Regions from separate parts of the Homo sapiens genome. Here all the other regions are linked to region 3. Evidence: promoter capture Hi-C in human tissues and cell types (Jung and others, 2019). All regions are on one chromosome and are shown on one strand. Each heading gives the region's core, a stretch centred on a gene start or on the middle of the fragment in contact. The rest is flanking DNA. Distances are from core to core; before and after follow the strand shown.

What was found. Contacts are between HindIII fragments. The study calls those that stand out against the background at their distance.
Region 1: a fragment that was not itself captured here is called in contact with the fragment with the promoter of COMMD2 in region 3 in 1 of the 25 tissues and cell types used here (hippocampus).
Region 2: a contact is called between a fragment that was not itself captured here and the fragment with the promoter of COMMD2 in region 3, in 1 of the 25 tissues and cell types used here (bladder).

Annotation. Positions count from the first base shown.
Region 1 is chr3:149,896,625-149,900,183 of GRCh38, forward strand. The region is part of intron 5 of RNF13 (ring finger protein 13); the gene reads left to right. Among named protein-coding and RNA genes, the nearest start is that of PFN2, 72 kb to the right of the region's middle. The HindIII fragment of the contact is 3,542 bases long and covers 335-3,559 here.
Region 2 is chr3:149,588,782-149,592,071 of GRCh38, forward strand. All of the region lies in intron 2 of WWTR1 (WW domain containing transcription regulator 1), which reads right to left. Among named protein-coding and RNA genes, the nearest start is that of WWTR1-IT1, 62 kb to the right of the region's middle. The HindIII fragment of the contact is 4,755 bases long and covers 1-3,290 here.
Region 3 is chr3:149,751,239-149,754,342 of GRCh38, forward strand. It overlaps COMMD2 (COMM domain containing 2), which reads right to left and starts at 1,251. Exons shown (of 5, transcript NM_016094.4): 1 at 1,140-1,251; 2 at 972-1,049; 3 at 165-247. The coding sequence starts at 1,206. RefSeq lists a silencer at 1,407-1,476. The HindIII fragment of the contact is 2,909 bases long and covers 1-2,554 here.

The DNA of each region.
Region 1 (3,559 bases), core at 856-3,355, 150 kb after region 3:
ACCTGCCACCACGCCTGGCTAATTTTGTATTTTAAGTAGAGATGGAGTTTCTCCATGTTGGTCAGGTTGGTCTTGAACTCCCGACCTCAGGTGATCCGCCCACCTCAGCCTCCCAAAGTGCTGGGATTACATTCGTGGGCCACCGTGCCTGGGCATTTTTGTCCTTCTTAACCCTAATAGAGTGAGGCAAAATTATAATATGTAAAAAGTAAAATTTATTAATACATTTCTTAATTTCTTTATATTTTAAATTATTATTTTAACCTCCTAGCTAATTAAATCTTCATGACTGTAGAATCCATTAAGTACCCATAAGAAGTTTTAGCATTTCAGGAATAGTTTGACAGCTACTACATGGGAATTACAGGACTTACTTAAGTGAGTTTACTTATCAAATAAACTGGTAATGTTAGTACTGCCAATTTGACACATTTTACTTCTCCTTTAACTATTTCCCTCTTAAAAAAAATTATCCCAGTTGATACATCCCATGGTCAGTAACTTTTGTGATCTGTATACATTTACTGGCAAAATGGAAAGCATGCGTAGTCTGGAAATGGATAGGCCTGAATTCGAAATCAAATCCTACTTGTATCAGTTGTATAACTTTGAGCAAGTTACTTACTCTTTGTGTGTTTTGCTAAAGGCCCAAGCCCAGGATTTAGCAAACCTTCAGGACCTTCTCAAGGGCTGAATATGTTTTGGATTGAACAAATTGATTATTATTTGTAAACTATTTACTCTTTTGACATGTTTTCAGTAAAAATTTTGCAGGCTGAAATTGTCAGTTCCCTTTATCACTTATTTTTTCTTTGTAATACTGTAAAACCTTTTTGTGATAATCATGTCAGCTCCTAAAGAAAATATGTTCAATATTAAAAGTAGCACACAACCATATAAGCCTGCTGTTGCCATGGAAATGTTTCAACTGAGTTGTTGTTCAAAGACTGCTCAGAATTTTGGTTCTTGACTTTGTTGCTTAGATTATTTTCTATGATATTTTGCTCCATCTTTGCGCATGTGTTTAAACGTTTTATATGTACAGAGACAAATGTTGTAAAGATCTTTACCATTTTCATGTTTGCTATTACTTGGTAGAGGTAAGAAAAGCATAGATTTATCAGAAGAGGCTTGTATCTGTCCCTCTTTTCAAGGCCTTTCCTAGGAATACTGGTATCTTATACCAAGCAGAGATACTAACGCCTGGAAACAAAAGGAAGTTGTAAAAGCCCCTTCCTGTTGACACTTCACGTAAGGAATATACCAATTTTTATTTCAGCCAGGAACAGAATGGATTAATTCAGTGAGCCAATAACATTCTTTATCTTTAGGAGACAGCAGAAAGTGGTAGGAAGGACACCAACTTCAGAACCAGGAAATATGTGTTTATTCTAAGCCAGGCTAGTTGTTATGTGAACCAGATACCTGCGCCCTCAGGAAAGTTACTTAATCTTTATAAGCACATTATTTTCATCTATAATAGTGTGAATAATTTTGATAATTATTTGACCTGACAAATTTGTGAAAACCTTATGAGAGAAGGTATATGAGAAAACCCATGCAATGGCAGAGTGAGAGGAGCCTAGATGAGGAGTCAGAAGCCTCCAGTTTGAGTCCAGACTGTGCAAATATCTAACTGTATAACCAGGTCAAGTTGTTAATATCTCTGGGTCATTTTTTTTTTCCTTTTTTTCTTTGATTTCTTTCTTCAACAAATGCATTTTGACAGCCTACCCTGCACTGTTTTAGGCACTGTGACTATAGGAAGTAATGATGCAGTCAGAGGCTCTGCCTTCATATCTTTCATTGAGGTAGTAGAGTGCAGTACTTAAGAGAGTACTTTCCGGGTACTGCTTGTTAGGGTTTGAATCCCAGCTTTACCACCTAGTAGCTGTATGACCTTGGGTATATTACCTAATATCTATATGCTTCAGTTTTTCTGATCTGTGAAATTAGGATAATAATAGTACCTAAGTTATTTAGTTGCGATGAAGATTGAATGAATTAAGGCCTGTTAAGTGTCTAGAGGACTTCCTGGTTCTTAGCAATCATTTAATGATTGTTCAGATATTATTATTGTGATTATTATCATTTTATTGCATTCTAGAGTAGGAGAGAAGAAATGAACACATAATCAAATAGATGTGCTATAATGTCAAGTAGTGATAAATGCTATGAAGAAAAATATCAGCATAAGGGGATATAGAATGACAGAGATGAAAGGAAGGCAGCTATTTTAGATAGGGTGGTCAGAGAAAGCTTCTGTGAGGCATTGCAATTTGAGCACCGATCTAAAGTTAGAGGCTGAGTCATGCAGATTTCTGAAGGAGGGTATTCCAAGGAGACGGAACAACAAGTACAACAATTCAAAGATAAAGCATGCTTGGTGTTTCCAAAGTGTGGCATAAAGCCACAATGGCTAGAGTAGTGAACAAGGGAGGGAGTGGGGGGATAAGGTTAGAGAAGGAGCCAGGGGTCAAATATGATGGGCCTTGTCAGCCATGATAAGGACTTTGGAATTTATTCTAAATAAGTTTTAGGCTGGGCACAGTGGCTCAGGCCTGTAATCCTAGCACTTTGGGAGGCCAAGGCGGGAGGATTGCCTGAGCTTAGGAGTTCAAGACCAACCTTGGCAACATTGTGAAACCCCATCTCTACTAAATATATAAAAAATTAGCCAGGTGTGGTGGCGTGCATGCCTGTAGTCCCAGCTACTCAAGAGGCTGAACCACAAGAATCACTTGAACCTGGGAGGCGGAGGGTGCAGTGAGCCGAGATCGTGCCACTGCACTCCAGCCTGGGCAACAGAGCAAGACTCCGTCTCCAAATGATTGAATGAATGAATGAATGAATAAATAAAAAAAAATAAGTTTTAAACAGCTGTGTAAGGCAATATGACATATTTCATAAACGGAGCACTTTGCTGTTCTTTGGAGAGAACACTGAAGGTGAAAGGTGAGCAAAAGTGCCAACAGAGAGAACATTTAGAAAGCTGCTGCAGCAGCCAGGCAAGAGTAATGGTGGTTTGGAGTATTAGTAGTTAAAGTCATGAGAAGTGGTAGGAATATGGCTATATTTTGAAGCTGACAGGATTTGGTATAGGGAGTAAGGGAAAGGGAGGAGTCAAGGATGATTCCAAGATGTTTAGTCTGAGAAACTAAGTGAATGGCTATGCTGTTTACAGAGATGAGAAACAGAGTTGATCGACTGAGAGAAAAGAGACATTCAGAGTTCAGTTGAGAAACTTTGTTTGAAACATGTATTAGGCAATCAAATGGAGATATTGAATGGACAATTGGATATACGAATCTGGAGAGTTTGGGGCTGGATCATTCAAATTGTAATCTATCTTTGTCGATATGTACTTCACAGAGTTGTTTTACAGATCAAAATAGAGTGTTTTAAAAGTATTTTGTGAAGTAAAACATATTTAGTTTTGTTTTCAGTAGATAATGTTGCCATTTTCAAGATGGCTACTCATATTTGCTTACAATATTTTCTCCCTTTTTCTTAATCATTTTATTAAAGTAAGGAGCTTTCTACATCTCTTTAGATGTCA
Region 2 (3,290 bases), core at 340-2,839, 160 kb before region 3:
ATTTGAACCTATACCTGCTCATTACAGCCTCTGAAAATAATTCCACAGCTATAGTGCAGGACTGAAAATCTTGTCTCTGCCTTAACTGTGAGTTGGAAAAGGCGCCACCATAATACTCCCATGAGTGCTTAGCCTAAAGGTGCTCTGAACTAGAGAGAGGCACAAAAGGGGGAAAAATGCAATAGAAGGAAGGGATAAAGAGGATCAAGGGAAGTTCTATAATTAAGCAATATTTTACGGCTGCCTCTGGCAGCTGTTTGAGTGAGCGGGAGAATCTAAACGAGGTGTCAACAGACACAGGAGCTGCCCTCTCCTTGGGCAGATCCAGCAGGGCCTAGCATGTCCTGTACTTCACAGGACAATCTGGGGCATCTTATATCCAGCACCTGTCAGCCTGGGAGACTCCCAGCTGCAATACTGTTATTGCTGTCATCTGCCTAATCCAGAAGGGAGCGGCATTTATTGTATCTAGAAAGAAAGATTAGGCTAAAATATATTTGACTGTTCTTATGAAAGAGAATGCATGCCTCACGTAACTGTGTTTGTTTTCTTCTTGTCCCTCCTGACTTTTTCTGTTTTTATCAAAGGAAGAAACCTACTCTTGCAGCTGTATTTTTCATTTTTAACCCCCACGTTAATCATATATTCACAACAAATAATGGTTTAAATTTAGTCTGACGACCAGCCACAAGGCTCCTTCTCATCCCACTATGAGGCACATCCTGCCTTCAGACTCTTTACGCAATCCTCATTGACTTGGAGAGGAACCCCGTGCAATGAGTTAAACAGGATATAGACCATCATAATTACCAGAGGAAATGGTATTTTCTTTACAGGATACATTTAGATTTTTCCTTTCCATGAGTTTTTTTTTTTTTTAATGGTGTTAAAATGAAAGGAGACTTTAAAGCAGCTTTCAACTTCTCAGTAGCCCCAACTATGGACTAAATGCAGAAGGCCTTACACACAGCAGACATTAAAAAACTACTCATAGAATAAGTGACTGAATTAAAGGAATGAATGAATGAATGAATGAACATATTTAATGGGTTTACTTCGACAAATCATTTTGCTTCTAGGTATCAAATATAACAGTTGAATCTTATTCACATCATATATGTTTTTATCTGTAAGTACTCATAAAACTAATCTAGGAAGATTTGTTCCTTACTTGCCCCAGAAAGGAACAAATTCTAGAGAATGCTGTCACATTCTATTAAACAAATTAAGTCATTCTCAATTCATTCCTGTTGATTCTGCAAACTGCTCGGCTGAGCCTCTACCAGGTACTATACACCATGGGTCCTGAAAGTCCACCATATCTAGCATACAATAGACACTAAATAATAAATGTATGTTGAATGAATTGCTACTTATATTCCTAATAATGACAATCATGGTAATAATGATAGTTACAATAATAATTATTCATATTAATTATTAGTCATAATATTCACAATAACCATGCTGTTAATGTCTGATAATAATAGTTGACATTTATATACCATTTTATGGCTTCAAAAATGATCTTAACTTGATCATTACATAACAGGCTTACTAATCTCTGTTTTTAAGAAATAAAAATGGGCCGGGTGCGGTGGCTTACACCTGTAATCCCAGCACTTTGGGAGGCCGAGGCAGGCGGGTCACCTGAGGTCAGGAGTTTCAGACAAGCCTGGCCAACGTGGTGAAACCCCATCTCTACTAAAAATACAAAAATTCACCAGGCATGGTGGCGGGTGTAATCCCAGCTACTCGAGAGGCTGAGGCAGGAGAATCGCTTGAACCCGGGAGGTGGAGGTTGCAGCGAGCCGAGATCATGCCATTGCACTCCAGCCTGGGTGACAAGAGGGAGACTCCGTCTCAAAAAAAAGATACAGAAACAGAGTTGGGTGAAGTAAACCTACTTAATAAGTTCTTAGTTTCCATGTGGCAGAGCAGAGTCAAATCTTGTTCTCATAATAAGGTCTAGGGCTTTTTCCATGATACAATACTGCCTTGTGAACCCAAAGAGGCTGACGTGCATAACTTGGGCCATTAGGAAGGAAGGAAAAGGGGAGGTGGACCGTCAGCACTGCTGATAGCCTGACTTTGTCCTGGAACAATATCTCCTGCAGGCTTGGTCCTCCTCTTGCTTCAATAACACACCACCATCCCTCCTTGTCCCTCCTGAAACCCTTGAGTCACACAGTATGTCAACTTGCCTGCAAAACTTAGCTTTTTTTTTTTTTTTAACACCCTGGTTTTAATTAGGCATATCCTGTCAAGAAAAGGGACTCTTGTGACAATAAAACAAATTAGGTCCATGTGATCCTGTAGTTGTTAGGGAGAAAGGAAAGAAAGAAATACAAATACTACTTAAAAAAACATAAATACAAAGCGGAACGCCAACTCTCCACTATGACCTAAAAGGAAGAGGTAAAAGGACTCTGAAGATAGATTTGGAGATGCAAGGCAACAGCTGAATATGCCATGAGCAATGCTGGAACCCTAAGCCAGAGCTGGGGATGTGATTCTTAAGGCCCTGCCACTTGGAAAGCCAAAACCTGTTCCTTCAGAAGCCAGTCTCTGATAGTAACTTTAGCCTAACTTGCCTTCCATTTTTATTAATGCTTTTAATATCATATTGCCTTTAGTTTTTATTAATGTTTTCATTATTTTAATAACTAGGGAAAATATTCAAATAGGGCTGTTGTATAAAATGTGTTCAGTCTATAATAAGCTATGTAACCAGCCTTTATAATTGACTATATAACTGTAATTACTTAACTAAAATTCAAGATGTACATTCACTTTTCCTAAATTTTCTCTAAACAAAAAAAAGTAGTAGAGATAAATTCCAATTTTTCTAAGAAATTACCTTTTCATGATAATATCTTATGTTTTAAAACATTTACACAAAAAACATTTTTGCAATGTATTCTGAAATTAAAAATAGTTATATTAGAAGAAACATTTCATTCTGGGTTAGGAATTGTAGTCATTTTAAATGACTTGAGAAAAAAGTTCATGTTTAAATACTCAGACCCGTAATAAATATATTAATACAAAAGTGCGGGAAAATGTACAAATGTTATCATATGTTGCCAAATGTGAGAAACATTGCGGGAGGGGGTAGGAGAAAGAATTAGTGAATACAAAGTCATTGTGAATTCAGCAAAGGGAGAGACACTTCTGATTCTGCCAACTGCATCTGGTATTTCCACCTAAAATCTACTTCTCCGGTAACAAATGCTTTCAGGTTCAACCAGACTGTGAGGAGACACAGCTATGGGGCAAGGTAACCTCAA
Region 3 (3,104 bases), core at 1-2,500:
AGATGATATGATTTTTATTTTTTAGGTATGTCTTCAAAAAATCAATTATAAACCATTAACAACATTATTAAAACACACAGGTACCTGCCAGGACTATGATGTAGAGTACACCAGACCGTTCTTAAGAATCCAGCCAACACAAAACAGTCCAGAAAATCCCTTACCATGAGCTTTGAGCTCTCAGTGAGGAGATACGTTAATCCTTCCACACCATGCTGGACAGTGTCACTACTCACATTGAGTTTTCCTGAGAAAGAAAAGTAAAAACGAGCAAATAAATTACTACTGTAGTATTTATCTTGTTCATATTTGTATTTAAAAATAAACACTATTCATTATTACATGTTTTCAAACACTGCATGAAAAACAGTAAGTTGGCCAGAGGCTCCTGCTCCTTGTCATTCCACTCCCAGCCAAATGCCTTTGGTATTTCCCACCAAGTAACCTTAACAAAATGCAGAACTGTGGAGACTAGTATCAGGTGCGTAGCCCTTCTCTTGAATACGTAGCTCCTTCAAGTCTGGCAGAAGAGGAACTCGACAGGGATTGACTTAATCCCAGAGACTGCCTCTTACCCAGGGGTAAAACAACACTTTTTTTTTTTTTTTTAGCAAAAGCGGATATCTGAACAACTAATAATGATAACCAAATACTTGCAATTTACAGTTGACCCAGCTATTCCACAGACTTTGGTATATTTATACAAAACACTTTTCAGTATTTCTGAAAGTAAGGTGGTATTATGTACATTTTACCATGAGAAAACTGATTTAATAGAAGCTTTAACAATCTCACAGCTACTTAAGGGACGGGCAGGATTTGCACCCTGACTGAAGAGCTCTGCTGGTTTTATTCTACTACAATCGGAACAAGACCCTAGGACTCGCAATAATCCGTTTCTCTCCCGGGAGACAGGGAATGGCTCGCAACCGCCCTAGAAGCCTGCGGAGCCTTCCCCTTTCCCTTCTTACTGGCGGCGCCTTCGTAGATTTTTGGGTTTGCGCCGCGTCTCAGGAATTCCACAGCAATCCGCCCAAACTCGGCGACCACTGCAATGAAAGTCAGAAGGCTGTTGAGTGCCAGGCGCTGCCTTTGACCTCCTCCCCAGCCCACAGAACACCGCCCCCACGCCCGCTGACCCGCGCTGTCCACTTGAGGCAGGAAGGCCAGGTGTTCCTTATGCTCCTCGGACAATTCCAGCAGCATCTTCACTGTCCTACGATTTCACCCGGCAGCGCCGACCCCGCCTTCGCCACTTCCGGCGCCCGTGTCCCGGCGCCTAGAGGCTCCGGCGTCGCAGCGTCCGGAGCTTTGGGTTCCGGCCTACGAACTAACGCGTTACACTCGGACGTTCCCTGCAGCGCAGGCTGAGGTCAGAACATTGAAATCATCCCGCAAAGATGCAGTGAGCGCCTGCTGGGTGCAAGGTGCTAGGCTCTATGGGAGATGAAAAGGTGTTTCAAATCCGACACGCCCCCTCGTGGAGCATACATTAATAATATCAATAGTTCACATTTGTTAAGCACTAACCGTGTCAGGAAGTGTTCTTACATTTATTAAATACATTTGGAGTTCAGAAGAACCCTATGAGGTAGGTTCCATTATAATTTCCATTAGAGATAAGGAAACTGATAGACAAGTCCAGCAACTGACACTTTTATAAAGCTAATAGTTTCCAGAGCTTCTATGTTATCTTAAATGTATCTCAGTTAATATCCTCAACAAACATGGCTTTGTTTTTACAGATAAGACACAAAGCTCCAGAGATTATGTGACAAAGCCTGTGACAGAGTTAGATGGAGAGGGTTGGATCCCTCACTTACCTGCTGCAAAGCCCATCCTTCTACATAACAGCCTGAAAGCTGAAAGCTTCTGACAAGTTTTATGAGTGATTATAAATTAGGATAAAGATAATGATGACAATGACCGATGCTTACAGGATTCAGAGCAATGTTTTTGTTTGTTTGTTTTGTTTTGTTTTGTTTTTTACATGGAGTCTCGCTCTGTCGCCCGGCTCACTGCAACCTCTGCCTCCCGGGTTCAAGCGATTCTCCTGCCTCAGCCTCCCGAGTAGCTGGTATTACAAGCGCCCACCACCATGCCTGGCTAATGTTTGTATTTTTAGTAGAGACGGGTTTTCACCATGTTGGCCAGGCTGGTCTTGAACTCCTGACCTCAAGTCATCCAGCCAACTTGGCCTCCCAAAGTGCTGGGATTACAAGCATGAACCACCACACCTGGCCCAGAGCAATGCCTTTTAAAAAGTATTTAGCGCCTGTGATAATTTAGTTCCTTTTCCAACTCTCTTCTCACCTGCTGTGGTTCAAATATCAGAGATGATAAAGTTGCTAATTGATAGGAATATGATTCTTCAAATCTTAACCCCTTGAAAATGGAGGGTGTGGAGGAAGAGAGGGGAAGGGAAGAAGACTCTTCATATCTGTCTTTTCTATCTAAGGCTTGAGACAACTCTATATTCTGAGTCTCCCAGGCAGACTAAAAATTGGAAGAGTTTTTCAATTCACTTCTCTGTGTCTACTTTGTCCTTCACATCTGACTGAAATTGTTTCTTCCACTGGGACACAGAAAGACAGGTCCTTGAACTTATTAGTTAGTTCTTGAAGTAGCATTTGCAGAGAGAACACAACTTTTACTTAGACTGTGAATTGCAGATTAGCAAAAATTGCATCATTTCCTGAAGTTGCCTTTATTCACACATTATTGAGAAAACATCCATTATTAAAGAATAATTTTCAGAAAAGGTAAAATCATGATTCTTCTACAAGTGTACAATGAACACATGTCAAAAAATGTATTGAACTAGTTAATTAATGAGAGAATTACAGCATTCTGTAATTAATGAGAGATTACAGTAAAAACCAGTTTCAACTGATTCAAAAGAGGTATTCAAGAACTGTACATATATAGGGAGTAGGAATGCTGAAATGAATTTGCAAATAGACACAATATTATGCCAATATGAAATGGCCTTTCTTGTCTGTAATCTCAGGGAATGAAGTGAGGACAGGCGAGGTGAAGGTGAGACTAGGGAGTAGCACAATAGGCTGTCTAAAAAAGGTGGTCAAGGAACCAAGTTAGGCCAG